Linked DNA regions of Homo sapiens: all the other regions are linked to region 1. Evidence: promoter capture Hi-C in 16 types of primary human blood cells and fetal thymus (Javierre and others, 2016). All regions are on one chromosome and are shown on one strand. Each heading gives the region's core, a stretch centred on a gene start or on the middle of the fragment in contact. The rest is flanking DNA. Distances are from core to core; before and after follow the strand shown.

Region 1 (5,031 bases), core at 1,356-3,855:
AGTCACCGTACCTGGCCTGCTTCTCTTTTTTTAATGATCACATCTGGGTCTCTCCCCTGAGAGACTGAGGCACTGGTGGGGGCAAGAGGAAAGACCCCAAGGGAATAGAACTTAGGCAGCCAGGTTGCCAGATAGCTCACCTATGGGGAGTACAGGAGAGGAGTGGCCTGTCCTACAGCCCCTTCTCCAGCATCTGGGACCCCTCCCTCTATATTCTTACTGTGTTTGTAGACTGCCAGGCACTCCTGCAGCTGGGGTGGGGTTCGAGTGGCAAGAATTTCAATGGCCACGTCCACAGCAGAATCTGAGGCCTACAAGAAATTGGGAGTCTACTCTCAGACTGGCCGTGTCATTAGGATGGCAGACAGAGGGGCAGACGCTGGCTGCTTCTCCTTCTAAGAAACAATATGGGACGACGAGAGGGGGACTCTCGTCTTGCAAAAGCAAGGCTGACAGCCTTCTCCCTTCCCCAGACACCCCAGCAAGTCTCCCCTCCTGCTACCTTCAGAGCTGTCCTCAATTCCTGGGCGTCAAACTGGGCTGTGGGCTGCAGCAGAGCCATCACAATCCTCTCCAGGTTGCCGGAAAGTGCTGCCTGTAGAGACTTCATCAGGTCCTACAATAAATGGTCCTCACAGCAGAGGGACGGGGGTGAGGGGAAGGGCCCCAGAAGTGTGGGGAGGTTTGGGAAGATTTGGCTGGTTTTCATCTCAGGCCCTGTTTAGCCAGGAAGCAGGGGCTGGCCTCAGCGGCTGTTGCTGTCTCTCGAGTCCTCCAGGGGGTTTCTCACCCCAGTCCACTGCTGTGGGAGGTCAGCATGGCCTCACCTGTTGGGTGCGCTCCTGGAAGTTTCGTGAGATGAGCTGCCTTTGCTCTCTGCTCCGGTTGGTCAGCACGTCCACAATGGCACTGCGGTCCACGCCTGAACCGAGATGAGGGCTGTGCTGTGAGCAGGGTCTTTACATAGTGGGATGTTCCTACTCCTTGGAGGAGGGAAGGCGCTCCAGGAGAGGGCTGGGAAGGAAAGGAGCAGGGGCTATATCACCCCCACTTCCATTTTATCTCAAAAGAAGTTGCAAATAAAATGTCAAAACAGCATGCAAATCTGACCCAGACCAAGGCAAAGGTGGCCTGGTGTGGTGGTTAAAAAAAAATACGACTTGGGGGGATCGGCTGACCTAGATGAGAATACCACCTCCGTCATGAGCTGAGTGACCTTGGGCAAGCCTCTTAATCTCCCTGAGCCCCAGTTTCCTCATCTGGAAAATGGAAATAATAAGCCTTGCCTCACAGGGGTGTTGTGAGAATGGGTTTGACACACCTACTGTGGCGCCTGACATACAAGAATGAAGGCATTCCACAAACATTTCTCCAACATCACTAGTTCCTCCTTCCTGGCTCCTCCTTGGTCTACAGATTGGCTCTAAAAGGCAGTCTCAAGTGCCGGGGGAAAGGGGCTCACCTTGGCCAGTAATGGCCCTCAGTAGCCTCTGCGCATCCTTGTCCACGCTGAAGTTCAAGAAGGTCCTGAGGGTGCCCAGGGTCCCCCACGCTGCAGTCTGTGGGAGCACAGGGTAGTTGGCAAGGGCCAGGGCCAGGCTGCCTACACCTCCTCAGCATAACCTCAGGGCCTGTCCTCCACTTTCCTGCCTCCCATCCTCTCACAGCCCGAGCTGAGATACTAAAAGTGATCTCTAAAATCCCAACAGCCCCTACCTTGCTGGCCAGGCCCAGGTGGCTGAGGATCTCCTGGGTGAGGGACGGTGCCATCTTCCCGCCAGTCACAGACATGGTGCTACTGGTTGCCCTGGGGAAGGAAACAGGAGCCCACAGAGCTGAATTTCCTGGCCCTTCAGGGACTCCTTATGACCCCCCCGAGACCCTGGACCCTGGGTTCCAGTCACCTGTTCCTTTCCTTGCTGCAGAAAAAAAGATCAACCTGCTTAGGCTTGGAGCCAGAAATGGAGCTGAAATGGTGAGGTAAGAGGGGAGCCCCCACCTTCCCCACCTCTCCCCACTCCTTTAGGAAGTGGGGATTGATGCGGAATGCTCCTGGACCAGGCGCCAACCCTCCCTGATGCCAGGGTCAGCACCAAAGCTCCTCAGGCCTTGGTCCGCGGTAGATGCCTCCCTTCTGAGGTCTATGGCCCTCCTTCCTGGGCCTGGCTGGGGTCTCCTGGGCAGTGCAGGGGAGCTGAGGTGAGGTGGCAGGATTAACCACGCAGAGTGGAAGACAACTCGAAATAGCATCTTCCCCCACCGGCAGCCCCAGCTGACAAGCAACCCTCAATTCCTGCCTGTACAGCTGCCTACCTGCTCAGCAGCACAGGAGCACAGGCCGGAATCTCTAGGTCAGCAGGTGCAATCTCTTAGCTGATGTGAGCAAGAGTTCTTGCAAGTACGTGGATGCCTGGACAGAAAGGAGGCACTCTCATGTTGGAAAAGGAAAACTCATTTTTCCCTCCCCCAAGCAATCAACAAGCCCTCCTGGCATGGGGCCGTGGGCCCAGTACTTACTCAGAGGTGCCAGAGGTGAGGTGGGTGTCGTTGTTGTGGCCTGGTAGCTTGCCTGTGTGAGCACTGCCTCCGGTGTGGCCTGGTAGAGGAAAGTGGGGGTGTGTGCAGCCTAGGCTGAACAGCCAGTCAGATGACCTCTCTTAGGGACGAACCCAGCAGTTGTCTGACTCTGGCCCCTCCCAGACGTGGGAGAGGACCGGGCTGTACAGAGTCCCACATGCAGACACCTTCCTGCCCAGCATCTCTTCTCCCAGGAACTGGGCCTCAATCCATGTGAGTGAACTCCACTCAGCCTCTCAGCGGCTCAGCCTCAAACACAGGAGGCTTTTATGCACTGCCTTCCCTGTGGGTCCAGGTGGGACCACAGAGACCTAGTCTCAAAGTCCAGCTTCTGACCTGGCTCTGCCCCAGCTTCTGACCTGGCTCTGCCTCTGGCTCCAGCTCCCTGGGGGGCAGGTCAGACAGGCTGCAGGCTGATTTCAAGGCTGATAGGGAAAAACCTGTTGGGGCACATACCAGCAGGGCACCCCAGCCTGCACCCCAGAGGGGGTCCCAGCCCAGAAACTCCCTTGACTGCTGCCTTACTAGAGCCAGCTGACCTAGGTGGAGAGTGCCCAGGGATTGTGTATATCTGTGGAGAAGGAAGGGCACAAGTATTTGGGAGTGGAAGTTGATGAACAGAGTCAAGAGAGAAAAATGCAAAGGGTGTTACCTTCAGAGGGAAGCTCTATGCTCCCAAAAGGCAACAGGGAGATGGGGGAGGCTCCCTTGCCTGGTTTCTTAGATTGCTTCTGTTGCCTTTTGGCAGCCTGGGCCCTGTGGCTGTTTTAGCTGCAGGTGATGCAACCCCAGCAGCTGGACTTGAGGCTGTCTCTGCACAGAGCAGCAGGTGAACAGCCCTGTGGAGCCCCCGCCCCGCCATGCAGCAACTGCTCCAGCCTCACAGCTGGCTCCCTCAGGTCTAAACACAGCCTCTTTCCTGCCTCCCTGGAGAGCCTGGGTAGGGGCGGGGCACAGAAGCTACAGCCCTGCCTCCACTCACTCCTCTGCCTCTCTCCCAACTCAGGAAGGCCTTCACTGGCATTCCTACATCCCTGGAGGAGGGACCTGCAGTGGCTCCACCACACTGAGTAGACCATGCCGGAGGACACGCCATGAAAGGATATTTCTGTGGCGGTAATCACTGCTCCTCACTTTTCTCTCCTGTTAAAAGGAAAACATGCACCTGTGTCAGAACTGGAGAATGAGGGTTCAATATCCAGCTCTGCCACCTATGTTCTGTAAGCTTCGCTAGTCCTTTCAGCTCTCTAAATGGGAGGATTGAGAGAGACGGAGGCTGTGGGACATGCTGGGGCCTCCGAGGACAGGTTTCCTGGGATGATTAAATGAAGTAATGTGTCCACTAAAGAACTTATCCATGTAACCAAACACCACCTTGTCCCCAAAAACTATTGAACTCATAAAAATAAATAAATAAATAAATAAATAAATAAGGTAATGTGGCCAGGCACGGTGGCTCATGCCTGTAATCCCAGCACTTTGTGAGGCCGAGGCGGGTGGATCATGAGGCAGGAGATCGAGACCAGCCTTGGCTTACACAGTGAAACCCCGTCTCTACTAAAAATACAAAAAATTAGCCGGGCATGGCGGCGCATGCCTGTAATCCCAGCTACTCGGGAGGCTGAGGCAGGAGAATCACTTGAACCTGGGAGGCAGAGGTTGCAGTGAGCTGAGATGGCGCCACTGCACTCCACAGCCTGGGCGACAGAGTGAGACTCCGTCTCAAAAAAAAAAAAAAAAAAAAAAAGTAATCTGTGTAATTGCATGTGGCAGAGAAAAGTGCCCTGTAAAGTAGGGGTATTAGATTAAATAAATAAATATACAGGACATGCAGCTTAATCAGAATTTCACGTAAATGAGGAATCATTTGTTGGTACAAGTATGACCCAAATATTTCATTAAATATACTAACATTTTTTTTTTTGAGGCGGAGTCTCTCTCTGTTGCCCAGGCTGGAGTGCAGTGGCATTATGTTGGCTCACTGCAAGCTCCACCTCCCGGGTTCAAGCGATTCTCCTGCCTCCGCCTCCCGAGTAGCTGGGATTATAGGCGCCTGCCATCATGCCTGGCTAATTTTTTGTATTCTTAGTAGAGATAGGGTTTCACCATGTTGGCCAGGCTGGTCTCGAACTCCTGACCTCGTGATCCACCTGCCTTGGACTCCCAAAGTGCTGGGATTACAGGCGTGAGCCACCGCCTGTAATTATTATTTTTTGTTTATCTGAAATTATAGTTTAACAGTGTGTCCTGTATTTCACCTGACAACCCCAAAATGGAACTCAGTCTCAGCGTGGTGGCTAAAAGCAAAGCTTCTGGAGCCAGACTTCTCAGAGTCGGGATTCTGGTCTTCTGTGTGACCTTGGGCAACTATTCTGTGCTCAGTTTCCTCATCATCAACAGACAAGTAATAGTGTTTATGTTATAGGTTGTTGTGAGAATTAAATAACTACAGTG
Region 2 (5,031 bases), core at 1,705-4,204, 600 kb after region 1:
GCTATTCACAGCCAGAATCATCATGCCTTATAGCCTTTAACTCCTGGGCTGAGTGATTTTTCTGCTTTAGTCTCCCAACTAGCTGGGACTTCACACGCCACCACCACACTCAGCTAGTTACCTTCTTTTAAATATATTCCCCTACCACAACTCTTAATGTCTTAAAAATCATGCCTTTTGGCTGGGTGCAGTGGCTCACGCCTGTAATCCCACCACTTTGGGAGGCCGAGGCAGGTGGGTCACCTGGGGTCAGGAGTTCAAGACCAGCTTGGCCAACAGGGTGAAACCTGGTCTCTACTAAAAACACACACACACACACACACACACACACACACACACACACACAAATTAGCCAGGCGTGGTGGCAGGCGCCTGTAATCCCAACTACTTGGAGGCCGAGGCAGGAGAACTGCTTGAACCCAGGAGGCGGAGGTGGCAGTGAGCAGAGATCGTGCCACTGCACTCCAGCCTGGGCAACAAGAGCTCCATCCCTAATAATAATAATAATAATAATAATAATAATAATAATAATAATGATGATGATGCCTTTTATTCCTTCTGTCTTTTCCATTCTCACTTAGCTATGCATGCGTGCCTTCTGGTTATGACTCCTCTCTGATTCTTTCACACTTTTGCTTATATATCGGATGTCTTCTTTCACCTGTTTCACATAGTTTTTGAAAAACCGTTTCCTCCATGAAGCCTTTCTTACTGTATACAAATATAAATTGGTACTCCCTGCTCTGCAACTAGGATTTTCCCAGAAACTCTTACATTACCAAAGTTTTCCCCAAGCACGTTCCAGGAAACAATAGTCACATGAGATGGCTAAAAACGAAAGGGATTCCATGGTCAAATAAGTTTGGAAAATGCTGAATATCCTACCCACCCCTTCCAGAAACTCATAGGTCTTTGTATTAAGGGTACTAAAGTCCAGCAGCATGAAAGCAGGTTTAACTTTAATTTGGTAGTTCCTAAACTTTGACAGTGAAACCCTAAACTATCACCACTTTTTGGGAAATTCTGTTGCACAAAGTACAAATTTGTACTGTTATTTTTGTTCACTACTATAGTATGGTATATTTTCTCCATATCTTATCACATTTGTCAGTTGATGCATATGTGCTACATATGGCAATCTGAGAAGCCTAAGAGGACAGAAGTGAATTCTTATCCTAGTTGATACTAAAAATAGCATGCATGTGTGGGGATGTCCTATGAATGAATTTCAAAAGCTCTTCACTTTTCTATTATCAGGTTTTTTAAGTCTTCTTAAAGTGAAATTGTTTTATACTCCTTGTTTCTATTATTTATTTTTAAAAATCCAGTGACACCAAGAATACTGATGTCCTTTTAAAATCTCTTCTTTGGCTGGGCACGGTGGCTCACACCTGTAATCCCAGCAAGTTGGGAGGCCGAGGCAGGTGGATCACCTGAGGTCAGGAGTTCAAGACCAGCCTGACCAACACGGCAAAACCCCGTCTGTACTAAAAATACAAAAATTAGCTGGGCGTGGTGGCACGCGCATCTGTAATCCCAGCTACTCAGGAGGCTGAGGCAGGAGAATCGCTTGAACCTGAGAGGTGGAGGTTGCAGTGAGCCAAGATTGCGCCACTGCACTGCACTCCAGCCTAGGCAACAGAGCAAGACTCCGTCACCAAAAAAAAAAAAAAAAAAAACCTCTTATTTGAGGCCAGGTCTCGTGGCTCACACCTGTAATCCTAGCACTTTGGGAGGTCAAGGCAAGAGGATAGCTTGAGTCCAGGAGTTCGAGACCAGCCTGGGCAACATAGCAAGACATCATCTCTACAAAAAATTTTAATAGTTAGCTGACCATGGTGGCCTGCACCCATAGTCCTAGCACCTCAGGAGGCTGAGATGGGAAAGATCAACTGAGTCCGGGATGTCAAGGCTGCAGTGAGCCATGATCGCACCACTGCACCCCAGACTGGGTGACACAGTGAGACTCTGTTTCAAAAAAATAAAAATAAAAAATCCCAGCCGGGCACAGTGGCTCACTCCTGTAATTCTGGCATCTTTGGGAGGCTGAGGTGGGCAGATTGCTTGAGCCCAGCAGTTCTAGACCAGCCTGGGCAACGTGGTGAAACCTTATCTCTTATTCATTTATTTTTAAAAACTAGAAAGGTGTCTTCCTATGTTGACCAGGCTGGAGTTCAGTGGCTATTAACAGGCATGATCAGGGTGCACTGTGGCCTCAAACACCTGGCCTTAAGTGATCCTCCCATTTCAGCCTCCCAAGTAGCTGGGACTATAGGCAAGTACCACCGCACCCAACAAGATGCATTTATATTAGCACAATAGCTATAGGCCAGGTGCAGTGGCTCACGCCTGTAATCCCAGCACTTTGGGTGACTGAGGCAGGCAGATTGCCTGAGGTCAGGAGTTCAAGACCAACATGGCCAACATGATGAAACCCCGTCTCTACTAAAAATACAAAAATTAGCCGGGCATGGTGATGGGTGCCTGTAATCCCAGCTACTCAAGAGGATCACTTGAATCCGGGAGGCAGAGCCGAGATCGCCATTGCACTCCAGCCTGGGCAACAGAGCCAAACTCTGTCTCAAAACAAACAAACAAATTAACAAACAAAAAAGCTATAAAAACATAAAAAATTCTTAAGTTCTCAATGAATTTCTAGAACTACAAGATGTTGCTATATGAATAGGTCCTTGAAATAATCAAAATAGGAAAACAGCTTCCAAATTATATGTTCTTTTGCTATTTGCTAATATTAATAAGAAAGGGCTCAAAAAAAGCCATGTCCACTCCTTTACATTATTAACCTTAATAAACATTTCACATAGAGTACGCAGGATTAATCGGAAGAATTTAAAAAGCTTATGCAGACAGGCCTGCATAAAACGTTATAATAACTGTATATCATAACTGCATTTTAAATGACAAGTTATCATTTGCTGAATTTTCTAAATGTCAGGTAGTTTGCCAAACACTTCATATGAAGCATCTTATTTAATTCCAACAATCATATAAGGTGAGCTATACAATTATTATCCCTATTTAAAAGCTTTCAGAGGTTAGTAGCAACCATAATGTCTATTTGAGATCGAAGCCCATGTTCTTTACCAACTAACCAACATACAACAGTACAATACAGTATGTCTCCCTACATACATAAATCTAACAAAAACATTGTGTCCTGTGGCCGGGCGCGGTGGCTCACGTCTGTAATCCCAGCACTTTGGGAGGCTAAGGCGGGCGGATCACGAGGTTAGGAGATCGAGACCATCCTGGCTGACACGGTGAAACCCCGTCTCTACTAAAAATACAAAAAATTAGCCAGGCGCAGTGGTGGGCGCCTGTAGTCTCAGCTACTCGGGAGACTGAGGCAGGAGAATGGCATGAACCCAGGAGGCAGAGCTTGCAATGAGCTGAGATCACGCCACTGCACTCCAGCCTGGGCGATAGAGCAAGACCCTGTCTCAAAAAAAAAAAAAAAAAATTGTGTCCTATTGCAGCAGTTCTCAACGTGTGGTCTGGGGTCACACTTAAGGAAGATTCATTGATTAAGCACTTTTGTGTTTTTGGAGCCAGGGTCTTGCTGTTTTCCAGGCTGGAGTGCAGTGGCACAATCACAATTCAGTGTAGCCTCAACCACTGAGGCTCAAGCAATCCTCCCACCTCAGGCTCCTGAGTAGCTAGGACTGCAGGTACGCGCCACCATGTCTACCTATTTTTTTTTTTTTGTAGAGATGGGGGTCTCACTATGTTGCCCAGGCTGGTCTCCAACTCCTGGACTCAAGCAATCTTTCCACCTTGGCCTACCATAGCGCTGGGATTACAGGCATAAGCCAGCACACCCTGACAATTACAGCACTTTCTATGTTCCATGCCTTCTTCTAGGTGCTGAGGATGCAGTGGTGAACAAAACAAATAATCTGTTGTTAGCAGTTTACATTCTTTTTGGGGGTGAGGGGGGCCATGTGTCTCAATAAATAAGCAAATAAATAAACAAGGCAGTATCTTATAATGAGAAAAGCCATAAAGAAAATAAAGGCCAGGCGTGCTTCACGCCTGTAATCCCAGCACTTTGGGAGGCCAAGCCGGGCAGATCACAAGGTCAAGAGATAGAGACCATCCTGGCCAACATGGTGAAACCCCGTCTCTACTAAAAATACAAAAAAGTTAGCTGGACGTGGTAGCGAGCACCTGTAATCCCAGCTACTCGGGAGGCTGAGGCAGGAGAATCGCTTGAACCCAGGAGGCAGAGGTTGCAGTGAGCCGACAGCACGCCATTGCACTCCAGCCTGGCGACAGAGAGAGACTCCGTCCCAAAAAAATAAAAATAAAATAAAATAGGAGCCGGGTGTGGTGGCTCACGCCTTAATCCCAGCACTTTGGGAGGCTGAGGCAGGTGGATCACCTGAGGTCAGAAGTTCAAGGCCAGCCTGGCTAATAGCAAAACCTCATCTCTACTAGAAAAATACAAAAATTAGCTGGGCATGGTGGTGTATGCCTATAATCCCAGCTACTTCAGAGGCTGAGACAGGAGAACTGCTTGCCATGAGACAGGAGAATCGCTTGAACCCAGGAGGAAAAAAAACAAAAAAAAATAGGGTAATATGATAAGAGAATGATGGGCGAGGGAAAGAGGTGGGCTCTCAGACAACCACCATAAGGTCAACCTCCAAGGAGATGACACCTGAGCTGAGATCTGAAAGACAAGGACATCAAAGCAAATTTTTCAAATAGCTAAATTTATGTAGTTTGAAGGTTTATCCTTTATTCTGAGAAAATGTCCTTCTAACACTTTTGGAATTAAAGTATAACCTTTTTAATAAAGTGATAGTTTATAAAATGGTGGGTAGTGATGCTATAAATGTAGTATATTTTTATGTCCATTTTTGGCAAAATAAAAAGCTAACAAACTTATGATCTCACAAATTAAAAATAAAAATTAACTGGTTGATAAAATAAAGCCTAGAGACGATCGGGCAATATGCGATGTTAAGATGAGAGACAATGGATATCTACATTGCAGAAAATTGACAA
Region 3 (5,031 bases), core at 2,532-5,031, 520 kb after region 1:
GCTGTAAACCCCAAAGAGTTGGAAGGTAGTTTAAAAGTAGTGCTTGGGAGCCCTGGGCTTTGCCCAATTGAGGCCTTGCTGGCTGAAGTTGAAGAGACTTCAGAAGTTGATGAGTTAGGAGAATAGTTGAAGCTTTTGGGAATAAAAGGTTGGGCACTGGAGGGCAGATTTCTTCCCTTTATGGTAGAGACTGTGGTGTTGGCAGGGGAGGCTGAAGTGCTCTGTGAGGCAGCTTCACTGGCTGGAACTGGGTTCCCAGTAACACTCTGAAGTAAAGATGACAGGCCTGTAGAAACAAAGATTAGAGGGGTTAAAAAGAACAACTCCCTATCATACAATGCAAACAATGTAGGCTAATCAGATACTCTCATTCATTTTGGTGGGAACCAGATAGACAAAGTGTAAGGCCAAAAGGAATCCAGACCAAACAAGCAATGGCTAAATGTCACAGAAAATACAGGGCCTATTTTATCAATAAAGAGCAAATCACTGAAATGTTTCCAGTACAGTCCAGAAATCAGCCCAACATGGCACAATAAAAGGCAACAGGAAGGGGGAGATTTTAATGTCAGAATCATTCATAGTTTAAGTTAGGCAAAGCAGGAAAAGAAAGGAGGCAAAGTTATTCTTAAAACAACACTTTAAGCCAGTATTTCTTAATGTTTGATCTGTGGAAGTGTTTCTCTAAATGCAAACAGATCTGTTCTACCTTTCCTGTCCAACCTTCAAACCAACCTTCAACCTTCAAACTTATTATCTCTAATAAGTTAATATACATTGTTATTTTCAAGCGGGAGACAGGCAAATGCAAATTTCAGAAACTTATCTGAACAGCAAACACCTTTTTCAAGAAGCACCTCTTGGTAGACTGTTGTTACTTTTTGAAAAACAATGCTTTCAACCATCCGTTTTGGTTGTAAAATGTAGCTATAACAAACATACACCACAAAGACTTACAAAGACAGACCACCAGGGACACTGGTCCTTTCACAAGAAAACACACAATCCCCATTTTATAGTGTGGAAAATCCAAGGATTATTTAGTCCAGATTGACAATGATGGAATTTAACTGTGTTCACTGACAGTCAAAACTTTCTCAGAAGCACTGAGAAAGAATTCTTTGGGGCAAAGGCTGAAGTTCAACAAAGCAAACTGCTCCTGTAGAAAATTTTTTAGAAAAATATTTGACAAAAAGATAACAGAAGGTTCTATAAATTCAATCATATTTTTAAAAATTTACCCAATTTCTGGTCACAAATGAAGACTTTTGGCTGGGCACGGTGGCTCATGCCTGTAATCCTAGCATTTTGGGCAGCAGAGGCAGGAGGATGGCTTGAGGCCAGGAGTTTGAGACCAGCCTGGGAAACACAGAGAGACTCTGTCTCTAAAAAAAATTTAAAAATCAGCTGGGCATGATGGTGCATGCCTGTAGTCCTAGCTACTCAGGAGGCTGAGGCTGGAGAATCACTTGTGCCCAGTTCAAGGTTACAGTAAACTAACTATGACTCTGCCACTGCACACCAGCCTGGGTGGCAAAGTGAGTCTCTGTATTTAAAAATAAATTAATTAAAAAAATTTTTAATATACATTTCACCCAAATTTATAGCTTTTAGTCACTGAATACACTAACATTGTTCCTTAGTAATTATATGATTAAAGAAAATACTTCATGTGATATTTCAATTAACATTTCTTCAAAATTTCAATTTTAACCCATATTCTAACAGATTTGGCCTAAAGAATTTCAAGTCCCCTCCATCCTTGTAACATTTTAAAGCCATTTATTTCTAAATAATGTTGGATGGTCTTTATTGTTATCCAATATTCAGTAATATCCAAACAACTGAAATAATGTTTACTTTAGTTATGATCCTTCTGAAGAAAAAAAAAAATCGGCATGTTTCATTCCAAAAAAAGTTCCCTAGCCACATAATTCATCCCTACTAATAGTTTCCTTTTTTTTTTTCAAGAGACAGGCTCTTGCTCTGTCACCCAGGCTGGAGTGCAGTGGTGCGATCATAGCTCACTGTAACCTCAACCTCTTGGGCTCAAAAGATTTATCTGCCTTAGCTTCCTGAGTAGCTGGGACCACAGGTGTACATCACTATGCCCAGCTAACTTTTTTATTTTTAGTAGAGACAAGGTCTCACCATGTTGCGCAGGCTGATCTCAAAATCTTGGGCTCAAGTGATTGTCCCACTTCAGCCTCCCAAAGTGCTGAGATTACAGGCGTGAGCCACCATGCCCAGCCTGATTTAATTCTTAGTAATCACTGTTCTCACAAAACCCAGAAGTCCTCAAACACTAGAATGTGATATATAATAATGTAATATGATTTTTAGAAGATATTTCAGCATATTTTTCAGATATTTTGGGATAACTTCTTCAAAAGAACATCTTTTTAAGATAGATATACTACTCAGATTTCTGGTAATAGGTAAAATTGTCTCTCACCACTAAATATTACTGTTCTCCAATCTTTTTTTTTTTTAATTATTTTTAAAAATTCTTAAAAACAATAGAGATAGGGGTTTTGCTATATTGACCAGGCTGGTCTCAAACTCCTGGCCTCAAGTGATCCTCCCATCGTGGCCTCCCAAAGTGTTAGGATTACAGGCATGAGCCACTGCGCCCAGCCAAAAGTTTGCTCTTTAATCATAACAAGTCATACTCTGCTCCTTTGCCCACTGAAGTTTCTCTTTTTTTGAGACAGAGTTTTGCTCGTCGCCCAGGCTGGCTCACTGCAACCTCTGCCTTCCGGGTTCAAGCGATTCTCCTACCTCAGCCTCCCAAGTAGTTGGGGTTACAGCTGTGAGCCACCACGCCCAGCTAATTTTTTTGTATTTTTTTTTGGAAAGACAGGTTTACCCTGTTGGCCAGGCTGGTCTTGAACTCCTGACCTCAGGTGATCCACCCGTCCCCAAAGTGCTGGAATTACAGGTGTGACCCACCACACCGGGCCTGAAGTCTCTCTTTTGTGTTATAAATCTGTCAATACCTAGGGCTGTGGATGACACAATCAGAACAAAGTTCTGGGATTTCATTAACAGTCTTCGAGGAAATACATCTATTTAACTTGCTAGATACAATCCTTTTAAAAGTCAAAGAGAATTCCACATTCCATAAGGAACCTAGTTCTGTTCAAATTTTGCCTCATCAGAAATTTCACATCGGCCAGGCACGGTGGTTCACACCTGTAATCCCAGCACTTTGGGAGGTCGAGGCAGGTGGATCACGTGAGGTCAGGAGTTCGAGACCAGCCTGGCCAACATGGCGAAACCCCGTGTCTACTAAAAATACAAAAATTAGCCGGGCATGGTGGTGTGAGCCTGTAATACCAGCTACTCGAGAGGCTGAGGCAAGAGAATCACTTGAACCCGAGAGGCAGAGGTTGCAGTGAGCCGAGATCACACCACTGCACTCCAGCCTGGGCAACAGAGCAAGTCCCCGTCTCAAAAACAAACAAACAAATAAAAATAAAAAGGGAGAAAGCATAAACATGTCAAACTCTCAAATTGTCCCTGATATTAGTAGTACAACATGTGCTGCAGTCATCATCAATTCTTTATTGCTGATGCCAATAGATAGGGGCTGTGGATTATTACTTAATACTATTTAGTTCTGTGTAACAAAATTCTTCTGCACCTCCAGACAAAGTTCACTATAATATGCTTGAATGATCCACTTACATAACAGTTTAGGAAACTGTTTTACACCACTCCTTTGATAGAGAGCAGGGTTTCTCAACCTCAGCACTACTGACACTTTGGGCTAGATAATTCTTTATTGTTGGGGCTGTCTCACACATTGTAGGATATTTAGGAGCATCCTCCTGGCCTCTACTCACTAGAGGCAGTAGCACCCCTACCATTACCCCAGTTGAGACAACTAAAAAGGTCTCCAAATATTGCCAAGTGTCCTCCCTGGAGGCCTTTGGTTGAGACTACTGATATAGAGTAAATCACTACACTGAATATATTGCCCTGGTATTTGTAATTCATTTCATAATTATACTACGGTACTTAAAAAGGATTTCATTGGTATCTGGAGCATAAGAGAGTAGAGAGTAGGAAAGATTTATGAAAAAAGGTTAGAAACAGGCAGTGTCATGCACAAAACATAATTAGTAAAGCTGAACAGAAAGGGTCAAATGAGAGAGATTATAGGTAGGTGAAAACAAAAATACTACATCTAAGACTCTAATAAAATAATAAATAAAATAATAAATAATGAAGCCTCTATAAAACATTAGGACAAAAAAAGATATATTCATGTCTCAGAAATTTTTTTTTTTTTTTTTTTGAGGCAGGGTCTCATCACTTAGGTTGGAGTACAGTGGGGTGACCACAGCGTACTGCAGCCTTGAACTCCTGGGCTCAAGTGATCCTCCTGCCTTAGCCCCCTGAGTAGCTGGAACTACAGGCATGCACCACTATGCCCAGCTAATTTTTTTTTTTTTTTTTTTTTTGAGACAGAGTCTTGCTCTTTTGCCCAGGCTGGAGTGTAGTGGGGCAATCTTGGCTCACTGCAACCTCCACCTCCTGGGTTCACACCATTCTCCTGCCTCAGCCTTCCAAGTAGCCAAGACTACAGGTGCCCGCCACCACGCCCGGCTAATTTTTTGTATTTTTAGTAGAGTCGGGGTTTCACTGTGTTAGCCAGGATGGTATCGATCTCCTGAACTCATGATCCGCCTGCCTCAGCCTCCCAAAGTGCTGGGATTACAGGCGTGAGCCACCGCGCCCGGCGCTAATTTTTAATTCCGTTGTAGAGACAGGGTTTCACTATGTTCTTGAAGCGTCATAAAAAAATTTTTTTTTTTTTTTTTTTTTTTGGACTGAGTCTTGCTCTGTCGTCCAGGCTGGAGTGCAGTAGCGTGATTCCGGCTTACTGCGATCTCAGCACACTACAGGTGTGTGTCACCACACCTGGCTAATTTTCATATTTTTAGTAGAGATGTTATTTCACCTGGTTGGCCAGGCTGGTCTTGAACTGCTGACCTTAGGTGATCTGCCCGCCTCAGCCTCCCA

Evidence for each region. The method cuts DNA at HindIII sites, captures the fragments that hold promoters and counts their contacts. A CHiCAGO score of 5 or more calls a contact.
Region 2: a fragment that was not itself captured here is called in contact with the fragment with the promoter of ANXA9 in region 1 in 1 of 17 cell types (total B cells); the score reaches 5.9 in total B cells.
Region 3: a contact is called between a fragment that was not itself captured here and the fragment with the promoter of ANXA9 in region 1, in 3 of 17 cell types (fetal thymus, naive CD8 T cells and total B cells). The highest score is 9.0, in fetal thymus.

The regions. Positions count from the first base shown.
Region 1 is chr1:150,979,866-150,984,896 of GRCh38, reverse strand. It overlaps ANXA9 (annexin A9), which reads right to left and starts at 2,605. Exons shown (of 14, transcript NM_003568.3): 1 at 2,518-2,605; 2 at 2,314-2,410; 3 at 1,717-1,807; 4 at 1,463-1,559; 5 at 828-922; 6 at 503-616; 7 at 221-311. The coding sequence starts at 1,791. LOC105371438 (a long non-coding RNA gene) reads left to right here and starts at 3,392. Exons shown (of 3, transcript XR_922135.3): 1 at 3,392-3,476; 2 at 3,584-3,693; 3 at 4,811-4,939. RefSeq lists an enhancer at 1,220-2,081. The HindIII fragment of the contact is 18,662 bases long and covers 1-3,804 here.
Region 2 is chr1:150,379,955-150,384,985 of GRCh38, reverse strand. The region is part of intron 1 of RPRD2 (regulation of nuclear pre-mRNA domain containing 2); the gene reads right to left. Among named protein-coding and RNA genes, the nearest start is that of RPRD2, 18 kb to the right of the region's middle. The HindIII fragment of the contact is 188 bases long and covers 2,861-3,048 here.
Region 3 is chr1:150,465,816-150,470,846 of GRCh38, reverse strand. RPRD2 (regulation of nuclear pre-mRNA domain containing 2) reads right to left here. Exons shown (of 11, transcript NM_015203.5): 11 at 1-286. Among named protein-coding and RNA genes, the nearest start is that of TARS2, 19 kb to the left of the region's middle. The HindIII fragment of the contact is 7,293 bases long and covers 135-5,031 here.